Regions from separate parts of the Homo sapiens genome. Here region 2 is linked to region 1. The links are contacts of gene promoters, found by promoter capture Hi-C in blood cells and fetal thymus (Javierre and others, 2016). All regions are on one chromosome and are shown on one strand. The core of a region is centred on a gene start or on the middle of the fragment in contact, and the rest is flanking DNA. Distances in the headings are between cores, read along the strand shown.

Region 1 (4,257 bases), core at 401-2,900:
GGTGAAGAAATGTCCAGAGCTCATTTGAACTCCTGTCCCCCTTGAATGAGGTACTCAGAAGCCAGGAGAGCCAGGCTAGGAGCATGTGATTTCCCATATAGAAGACTCATTAAGAAAGATTATAGGCCGGGCGCGGTGGCTCACGCCTGTAATCCCAGCACTTTGGGAGGCCGAGGCGGGTGGATCATGAGGTCAGGAGATCGAGACCATCCTGGCTAACAAGGTGAAACCCCGTCTCTACTAAAAATACAAAAAATTAGCCGGGCGCGGTGGCGGGCGCCTGTAGTCCCAGCTACTCAGGAGGCTGAGGCAGGAGAATGGCGTGAACCCGGGAAGCGGAGCTTGCAGTGAGCCGAGATTGCACCACTGCAGTCCGCAGTCCGGCCTGGGCGACAGAGCGAGACTCCGTCTCAAAAAAAAAAAAAAAAAAAGAAAGAAAGATTATAGAGAATTATCAAAAGATTCCAAATCCAGCATTAGGTCCCAAGGCCTCACACACAGGACTGTGGAGCCTCCGTCTGAAATCCAGAGAGCTGGGATTCACAGACACCAGCAGCTCAGGTGTCAGGCAAGAAGTGGGACTTCAGGATCTGCAGCCCTGGGCTCCCATGGGGGCTCTGCCGAGCTGCCGGAACTTGGACAAGTCATTTAATTCCCAAGAATCTCAGGTCTTCCTCGGGAGAAGGTGAACTAAATTTATACCCTGCTCCCAGCGTTACTGTGAGGATTCGGTGTACGCGGAAGCCCATTACAGCCTAGAGCCCTAATTATTAATAGGTGTGTGTGAGAGGGAGGCCTCATTATTACCAGGTGAGAGACAGGGAGCTGGGATCGCCTACCTGTGAGTGGAGGAGGCTCCCTCGAGCACCTCCGTATCAGCGGCGTGGGAAAAGCACGTGGAGCGCCCACCGCGCTAGGCGCATGCGCGGAGCAGGAGCGCTTACCAAGCTGGGCGCATGCGCGGAGCGGGCGCCTCTGGGCGCGCTCCCCGTGGCCCCGCCCTCCCCACAGAGCCGCAGACTCGAAGCTTCACACCTTTATTGTGTCCGGGGGCGTCCGGGGCCTCAGGGGTGTTCGTAGCCCGTGGGCAGAGGGTTCACGTGGCTATTGTGGAACAGAGTGTGGTTGCCGTCCCCCCAGGGGTAGGGCTGTGGAGAGAGCGGGGGAGGGAGCGCGCGTGAGCGCCGTGAGTCCGGAGTCCGCGCCCCGCGCGACCCCCCCCCCGCAGCACCCCCCCCCGCCCCCGCAGCACCCCCCCCCGCCCCCGCAGCACCCCCGTGCCGCCCGCGCGCCCGTCCCGCGTACCTTGGTGCGGATGCGGAGGTGTTGGTAGGGACGGAACTCGGGGCGCGGGCGGTGGCCCGAGTGGAGATAGGAGTTGAAGGTGCAGAGGGCCACGCTGGGCAGCGCCAGCACGAAGGTCAGCAGACGCCAGGTACGAGCTGCGGACGGAGCGGGGTGAGCGCGGCGGTCCTGGGGCGGCGGGCCTGTGAACAGGTGGGCAGGGTAGGGGAGCCCCCGGATCCGCCCGTTCCCCACTCACCTCCTGCTCCTCCGTGGCCTCCTTTGGCAGCGCTGGCCAAGCCCCGGGTCAGGGGCCTCAGAGGCAAAGCCATGATGGTGCGGGGAGCCGGGAACCAGCGCTGTCCTCGCTCCCTTTCCTGGGGCCTGGGGTCACCTCCCCTCTCTGGGCCAATCACCTGTTGAGTCTGGAGCACTGGCGGCTATTCTTAGGGGTTTCTATATTTAAAATGGGGCCTGACTGGCTTGAGGTCATCTCCAGACAGCTGTTGTCCTGTGCCTCTTATTTTGGCAAGGAGGCATTTAAGTACAATATGCCATTCTTTTTATATAGTTGCAGGGAAACTATTTTGTTCCCTATTCTATGCCTGGTGGCTGGCACACAGTTGGGCTTTAATAAATATTTGTAGAATGAATTAAGTGTCTTTTTGAGTCTCAGTGTTTTCAGCTGTAAAATGTATAATAATTCGTACCTTAAAAGATTTTTTAAATACTGGAGACGGGGATCTCACTATATTGTCCAGGCTGGTGTGGAACTCTTGAGCTCACGTGATCCTCCCGCCTCAGCCTCCCACAGTGCTGGGATTACAGGCATGAGCCACTACACGGCCCTTACATCATTTTTATGAAGTTTATGTAAGGTAGGAATGTGTCAACCTGGATTTTGGCAGGTAACAGTAGTTCAGTATATGTATTAGTCACAGTTCTTTGCAAAGAACAGAACTCACTCTTACTAGTTTTAGAAGATAAGTAATTGAGAATCTTAGGTAGCTTACTATGTCTGATATAGCCAGAGATGCCTACAGTCTGCACAGTCATAAACAAGTCATTCCGTTGGCCAGCTGCAGTGACACCCCCACAGCTCACACTGCTGGACCCTGGATGCCAAAAGCTTCATTAAGGCTGCCCTGGAAAACCAGAATTTTCCACCCTCATCCCCTCTTGAAAACAGATTCTTCATGAAACCTGTATCCTGGGTCGCTCTTTTCTGAAAGAATTATGTGATTGCACCAACTGGCAACCCCTAGGTCCCCCAGCTGCAGGAGGGGATGGGAAACTGAGCTCTGGATTCTGCCTTAGGGAGGCAGGAATTGTAGGGAAAATCTCCAGGTCTAGGATGAGTATTCAAAAGGTTCCAGGCAGCCACAAGCCTGACAGGTGTCTACTGCAAAGTGCATTATTTCAATCTGAAAAATATGACTACTTGGAGAAAGCAAGCCTAGACAGGGCTGGTGTGAACCCTCTATCAAAGCAGGTCACAAGAAAGCCACAAGACCAGGCAGGGATGACATCTGCCTGTTCTGTCCTCAGCAACGGGCAGGGACCTTGGCATGAAGGAGGTGTTCTAAAAATATGTATGTAATGAATGCTTGAACCTTGTTACTTTGGTTAACCCTACAACAATGCCTTTTCAGAATTACAATCCAATAGGAAGCTTCTAGCTTTGATCAAGGGCTGATGTACTAATATGAACTTAATATACAAAAGAAGAATGAATTATATAGACATATAATCTGAATTTAATATATAAAAAAAACGAGGAAGATATATTTTCAAGAAGGGGCTCTATACCTGTTTCTCATTGGTAATAAACTGAACAGTATGTTCCATCCAACTTTAAGCTGCTGCTATTTTTAAAAAAAATAACCTCCTTGAGCAGTCAAATGTTATACAGTGTTACAAAAATTATTCCTGAGCTCTCACTGAGCTATAATAGAATTCTTCCTACAGTTTTTTTCCCAGCTGGACTTTGGCATTGTTGCAGAGAAGATGGGGCCCTATTCCAGTTAAAGATACCTGGCATCTCCCTCTACACATAGCCCCCTCCCTACGTATATAAGATAATGGCTCCTGGAGAAAACAGACATGAAGACAGGTATTTTTACTTGACAAAGTTCTAGAGGCCTGGCATAGTGGCCCACGCTTGTAATCCCAGCACTTTTGGGAGAATGAGGAGGGCGGATCACTTGAGGTCAAGAGTTTGAGTCCTGCCTGGCCAACATGGTGAAACCCCATCTCTACTAAAAATGCAAAAATTAGCTGGGTGTGGTGGCCCGTGCCTGTAATCCCAGCTACTCGGGAGGCTGAGGCAGGAGAATCGCTTGATCCCAGGAGGTGGAGGTTGTAGTGAGCCAAGATTGTGCCACTGCACTTCAGCCTGGGTGACAGAGTAAGACTCTCTCAAGAAAAAAAAAAAGAAGGAAAAAAGGAAGAAAAGGTTCTAGGTTTCTTTTCTCCCCTAAAAGGCCCCTCAGAGTTTTTCTGGTTGCTGCCAAACAATTCCCTGGGAATTCCCATCCCTTTGTTCTCAGCTTGGGAGCTCCTGTGGAGAGGTTTTCTTGCTGGGATGTCAAGAACGCCCTGAGGAGGGCCACTTCTGTCCTGGGCTGCTGTCACCATCACGAGGTGCACTTGCCCAGGTACCCAGAGACCTCCGCTCAGGTGGTCTGTGCTTTTCTGGGCTTGTCACCATCTTACCTGCCTCTCTAGAGGGTGTGCAGAGCTGTCTCTTCCAGGCTGTGCACTCACCATTGTTTCTGTAAGTTCTCACTCACACAGTTCTTAACCTGGCTGCTGCCAACACTTTCAGTTTCTAGAGGTTTAATTTTTCCTCCACTTTAGGCAGAGGGAAGAACAAACTCACCAGGTGCTAAATAAACCCCGGAGGGCAGCATCTCAGCCTCTGTTCAGAGTATCTCAGCTGTTGGTGGTGAAGGAGGTGGAGGCATGACTCAG
Region 2 (4,426 bases), core at 482-2,981, 160 kb before region 1:
TTTCATTTATTAAAAAATATATAATACATACACTTGGTTCAAAATTCGAAAGGGTGCGGTAGCTCACACCTGTAATTCCAGCACTTTGGGAGGTCAAGGCAGGAGGATTGTTTGAGGCCAGGAGTTTGGGACCAGCCTAGACAACATAATGAGACCCCATCTCTACAAAAAATGCAATTAGCCAGGCATGGTGGCGTGTGCCTGTGGTCTTAGCTATTCAGGAGGCCTCCCAAAGTGCTGGGGTTACAGGCATGAGCCACTGTGCCCTGCCAGTCTTTCTAAAATACAAAACAAATCATCTCACTTCCTTTTCTAAGAACCTTCTGTGGCTCCCCATTGCCTACAGATAAAGTCGAGCTCCTTATTGGAGTAGAAAGGCCCTTGCCCGCTGCTCTTTGCTTGATGCCACCGCTGTGTCTCCATCGCCGTCACATACGTTTGTCCCTGTAGTGCTGTTTCCATCAAACGGCATTCCTGGATTCTGCCAGAATCCTTTTGAGGCCCTTGTCCCATATATCAGTAGGAGTCTCAACTGGGACCAAAAGCACATTCCAGTAATGTAACTGCCCAAGGGGTTCACCTTGCTTGCTGCCTAGACAGAGCCGATTCATCAAGACAGCAGAATTGCGATAGAGAAAGAATAATTCACACAGAGCCAGCTATGCAGGGGACCAGAGTTTTATTATCACTCGAATCAGTCTCCTCGAGCATTTGGGGGCAGAGTTTTTGAGGATAACTTGGTAGGTCGCGGGGGAAGCCAGTGAGCTGGGAGTGCTGATTGATCAGGGATGAAATCATCGGGAGTCGGAGCTGTCTTCTTGCGTTCAGTTGGTTCCTGGGTGGGGGCAGCAAGATCGGATGAACCAGTTTATTGATCTGGGCAGTGCCAGCTGATCCATCAAGTGCAAGGTCTGCAAAATATCTCAAGCACTGATTTTAGGAGCAGTTTAGGGAGGGTCAGAATCTTGTAGCCTCCAGCTGCATGACTCCTAAATCATAATTTCTCATCTTGTGGCTAACGTTAGTCCTACAAAGGCAATCTAGTCCCCAGGTAAGAAGGAGGTCTGCTTTGGGAAAGGGCTGTTACGATCTTTGTTTAAACTATAAACTATAAACTATAAACTAAGTGTCTCCCAAAGTTAGCTCAGCCTACACCCAGGAATGAACACGGACAGCTTGGAGGTTAGAAGCAAGATGGAATCAGTTAAGTTAGATCTCTTTCACTGTCTCAGTCATAATTTTGCAAAGGCGGTTTCAGTAAGATTTATTTACAAAGAGGGGGGTTTATTTATAAAGGGAGTAATTATAAAGCTGTGACAGGCCTAAGGGAGCCATCAGGGACTTTCCAAGCCCTGGGCAAGCAGGTCTGTTGCCACCCCTGGGTTTATGGGTTGAGGAGAGGGAGAGCTCACCAGGGTCTGGAGAGAGTCATGTGGAGCTGGCTTCCTTCTGAGGAACAGTTGGTCTTTTGTGAAGGACATAGCTGTCCCCAAACAACCTCAATGGGAGAACACCCGGACCTCACTGCCCTCCTCCCTCTAGTCTTCTGTTGAGCCCCCTCATCTGCCAAATCCAATGGGAATCCAGAGGGCAACAGAGTCCTGGTGATGGGGTCCCTGCAGGTTGACCTCCCAGGCCACAGAGCTGAGCGGCAATGGGTAGAAAGTGGATTTGGGGATGGGGCAGAAGGCAGAGGAGCACATTCCACATCACTTTATATGTGTGTGCCCTTCCCTTTTCTAGAATCTACTCCTTTTGTATATCTGGCAAATCCTTCCTTCCTTCCTTCCTTCCTTCCTCCTTTGCTTTCCTTTCCTTTCCTTTCCTTTCCTTTCCTTTCCTTTCCTTTCCTTTCCTTTTTTTCTTCCTTTCTTCCTTTTCTTCGAAGTCTTGCTCTGTGACCCAGGCTGGAGTGCAGTGGTGCGATCTCAGCTACTTTTTGTATTTTTAATAGAGATAGGGTTTCACCATGTCAGCCAGGCTGGTCTCAAACTCCTGATCTCAAGTGATCCACCTGCCTCAGCCTCCCAAAGTGCTGGGATTACAGGTGTGAGCCACCTCGCCCAGCTGGGCAAATTATTTCCTGTTCTTCAAGATTCAGTCAAACATCACCACATTCCCTGATTCCCTTGGGCAGAATTAACGAAAATTTTCCATACCACTTTGTCCTTGTTTATTTACTTATTTATTTATTTTTAAGAGACAGGGTCTTTCTCTGTGGCCCAGGCTGGAGTGCAATGGCGTGATCATAGCTCACTGAAGCCTCAACCTTTTGGGCTGAAGTGATCCCCCACCCTCAGCCTCCTGAGTAGCTGGGACTACAGGCATGTGCCAACATGCCTGACTAATTTTTAACGTGTGTGTGTGTATATATATATATATATATATATATATATATATATATATATATATGTTTTTAACGTGTGTATACATATATATATATACACACACGTTAAAAATTATATATATATTATACATAATTTATATATATATTTAACATCTATATTTTTTATAGAGACGGGGTCCTATATTCTCATTGTTCAGCAGAGGGCTGACATGCAAAAAAACCCAAAACACCAAGTGTCAAATTACTTGATTCATACTCTTTTCCCCTTCCCCAGGGTGTCCTCAAGAGGATAGTGACATTGCCTTCTTGATTGATGGCTCTGGTAGCATCATCCCACATGACTTTCGGCGGATGAAGGAGTTTGTCTCAACTGTGATGGAGCAATTAAAAAAGTCCAAAACCTTGGTGAGGGCCCAGGGGTAGGTTAGGGAAGAGCCCACACGGGGCTGGAAGATACATGGCAACCGGGCCACCATGTTCTCCTCCCAGTTCAACTGCAGACATTGCCAAATTGACGATCGATTATGGTTTGCCTTCCTGAGTCTCTTTTCTGCTCTGTTGGATGCAGCCTCAGCATTCTTTCAGCCTTTTATAAAGCGGGCAGCTCTAATTGTTAAGGTTGGCATGGGAGATGAAGCCCACGTGTCATTGCTGGCTGAGTTCTATTTTCATTTTTATTTCTTATTTTTTTGAGACAGAATCTCACTCTTTCTCTCAGGCTGGAGTGCAGTGGTGTGATCTTGGCTCACTGCAACCTCCGCCTCCCGGGTTCAAGCAATTCTCTTGCCTCAGCCTCCCGAGTAGCGGGGATTACAGGCGCATGCCACCATGCCTGGCTAGTTTTTGTATTTTTAGTAGAGACGGGGTTTCACCATTTTGGCCAGGCTGGTCTCAAACTCCTGACCTCAGGTGATCCACCCGCCTCGGCTTCCCAAAGTGCTGGGATTACAGGTGTGAGCCACTGCTCCCGGCCGCTGGCCGTGTTCTAGTATTGAGGAGAGATGGGAGCTGCTGGCAGCTCTCCGTCCTGGTGAGGCAGGGGATTAGGGGCAGCACAGAGGAGGAATTTGGAGAGTGGAGTGTTTAAGATCTTCGTGGAGCTTGCTGGGAGATGTCTGAGGGGTGGGGGCACCTTCTCCAGCATCACACCAGCCGCCCCCTCCGCAGTTCTCTTTGATGCAGTACTCTGAAGAATTCCGGATTCACTTTACCTTCAAAGAGTTCCAGAACAACCCTAACCCAAGATCACTGGTGAAGCCAATAACGCAGCTGCTTGGGCGGACACACACGGCCACGGGCATCCGCAAAGTGGTGTAAGCTTCCCCTTTTCCCTTAGGATGGAGGGAGGAGGAGACACTTTTAGCTGGGCTTTGATGGATGAAGGGAGCCGTTCAGACAGGGGTGGTAGAGGATGCTTCCCCACCGGCAGAGGTGGGGAGGCTGTGCGTGGTGTGTTCATCAAAGGACAAGTTGTGAGTGAAAGGTGGGAGTGGAGTGGGGAAGTGAGGGAAAGGTGTCTGGAGGGAAGCTACAAAGATCAGCTCAGGCCAGGGAGCCAAAGGCAGCTTTACAGCCTGTGGTGAGATATCGCCATGTCTCATTTTGGGAAGTTCACTCTGATTTTGAGGTGGGTGTAGAGGCAAGGATGGGGTTGGGACAGAAGTACAAGAAGCACTGGAGAGTCCTAGAGGGGCTGGGGAGCTGGTGCAGTGCTCTGGGAGAGGTTTCCTGAAGGCCAATTAACTATATATATATATATATATATATATATATATATATATATATTTTTTTTTTTTTTTTTTTTTTTTTTTTTTTTTTTTTTGAGACAGAGTCTCACTCTGTCACCCAGGCTGGAATGCAGTGGCCTGATCTCGGCTCACTGCAACCTCCACCTCCTGGGTTCAAGCAATTCTCCTGCCTCAGCCTCCTGAGTAGCTGGGATTACATGCGTCCATCACCACCATCAGCTAATTTTTGTATTTTTAGTAGAGACAGGGTTTCACCATGTTGACCAGGCTGGTCTTGAACTCCTGACCTCAGGTGATTCACCTGACTTGGCTTCCCATAGTGCTGGGATTA

The links. The method cuts DNA at HindIII sites, captures the fragments that hold promoters and counts their contacts. A CHiCAGO score of 5 or more calls a contact.
Region 2: a fragment that was not itself captured here is called in contact with the fragment with the promoter of COX6A2 in region 1 in 1 of 17 cell types (M0 macrophages); the score reaches 6.4 in M0 macrophages.

What each region holds. Positions count from the first base shown.
Region 1 is chr16:31,426,710-31,430,966 of GRCh38, forward strand. COX6A2 (cytochrome c oxidase subunit 6A2) reads right to left here and starts at 1,651. Exons shown (of 3, transcript NM_005205.4): 1 at 1,544-1,651; 2 at 1,306-1,442; 3 at 1,022-1,148. The coding sequence starts at 1,616. The coding sequence ends at 1,065. The HindIII fragment of the contact is 1,386 bases long and covers 1,026-2,411 here.
Region 2 is chr16:31,268,333-31,272,758 of GRCh38, forward strand. ITGAM (integrin subunit alpha M) reads left to right here. Exons shown (of 30, transcript NM_000632.4): 6 at 2,622-2,752; 7 at 3,515-3,660. Among named protein-coding and RNA genes, the nearest start is that of ITGAM, 11 kb to the left of the region's middle. RefSeq lists enhancers at 2,950-3,475, 3,476-4,001. The HindIII fragment of the contact is 3,863 bases long and covers 1-3,663 here.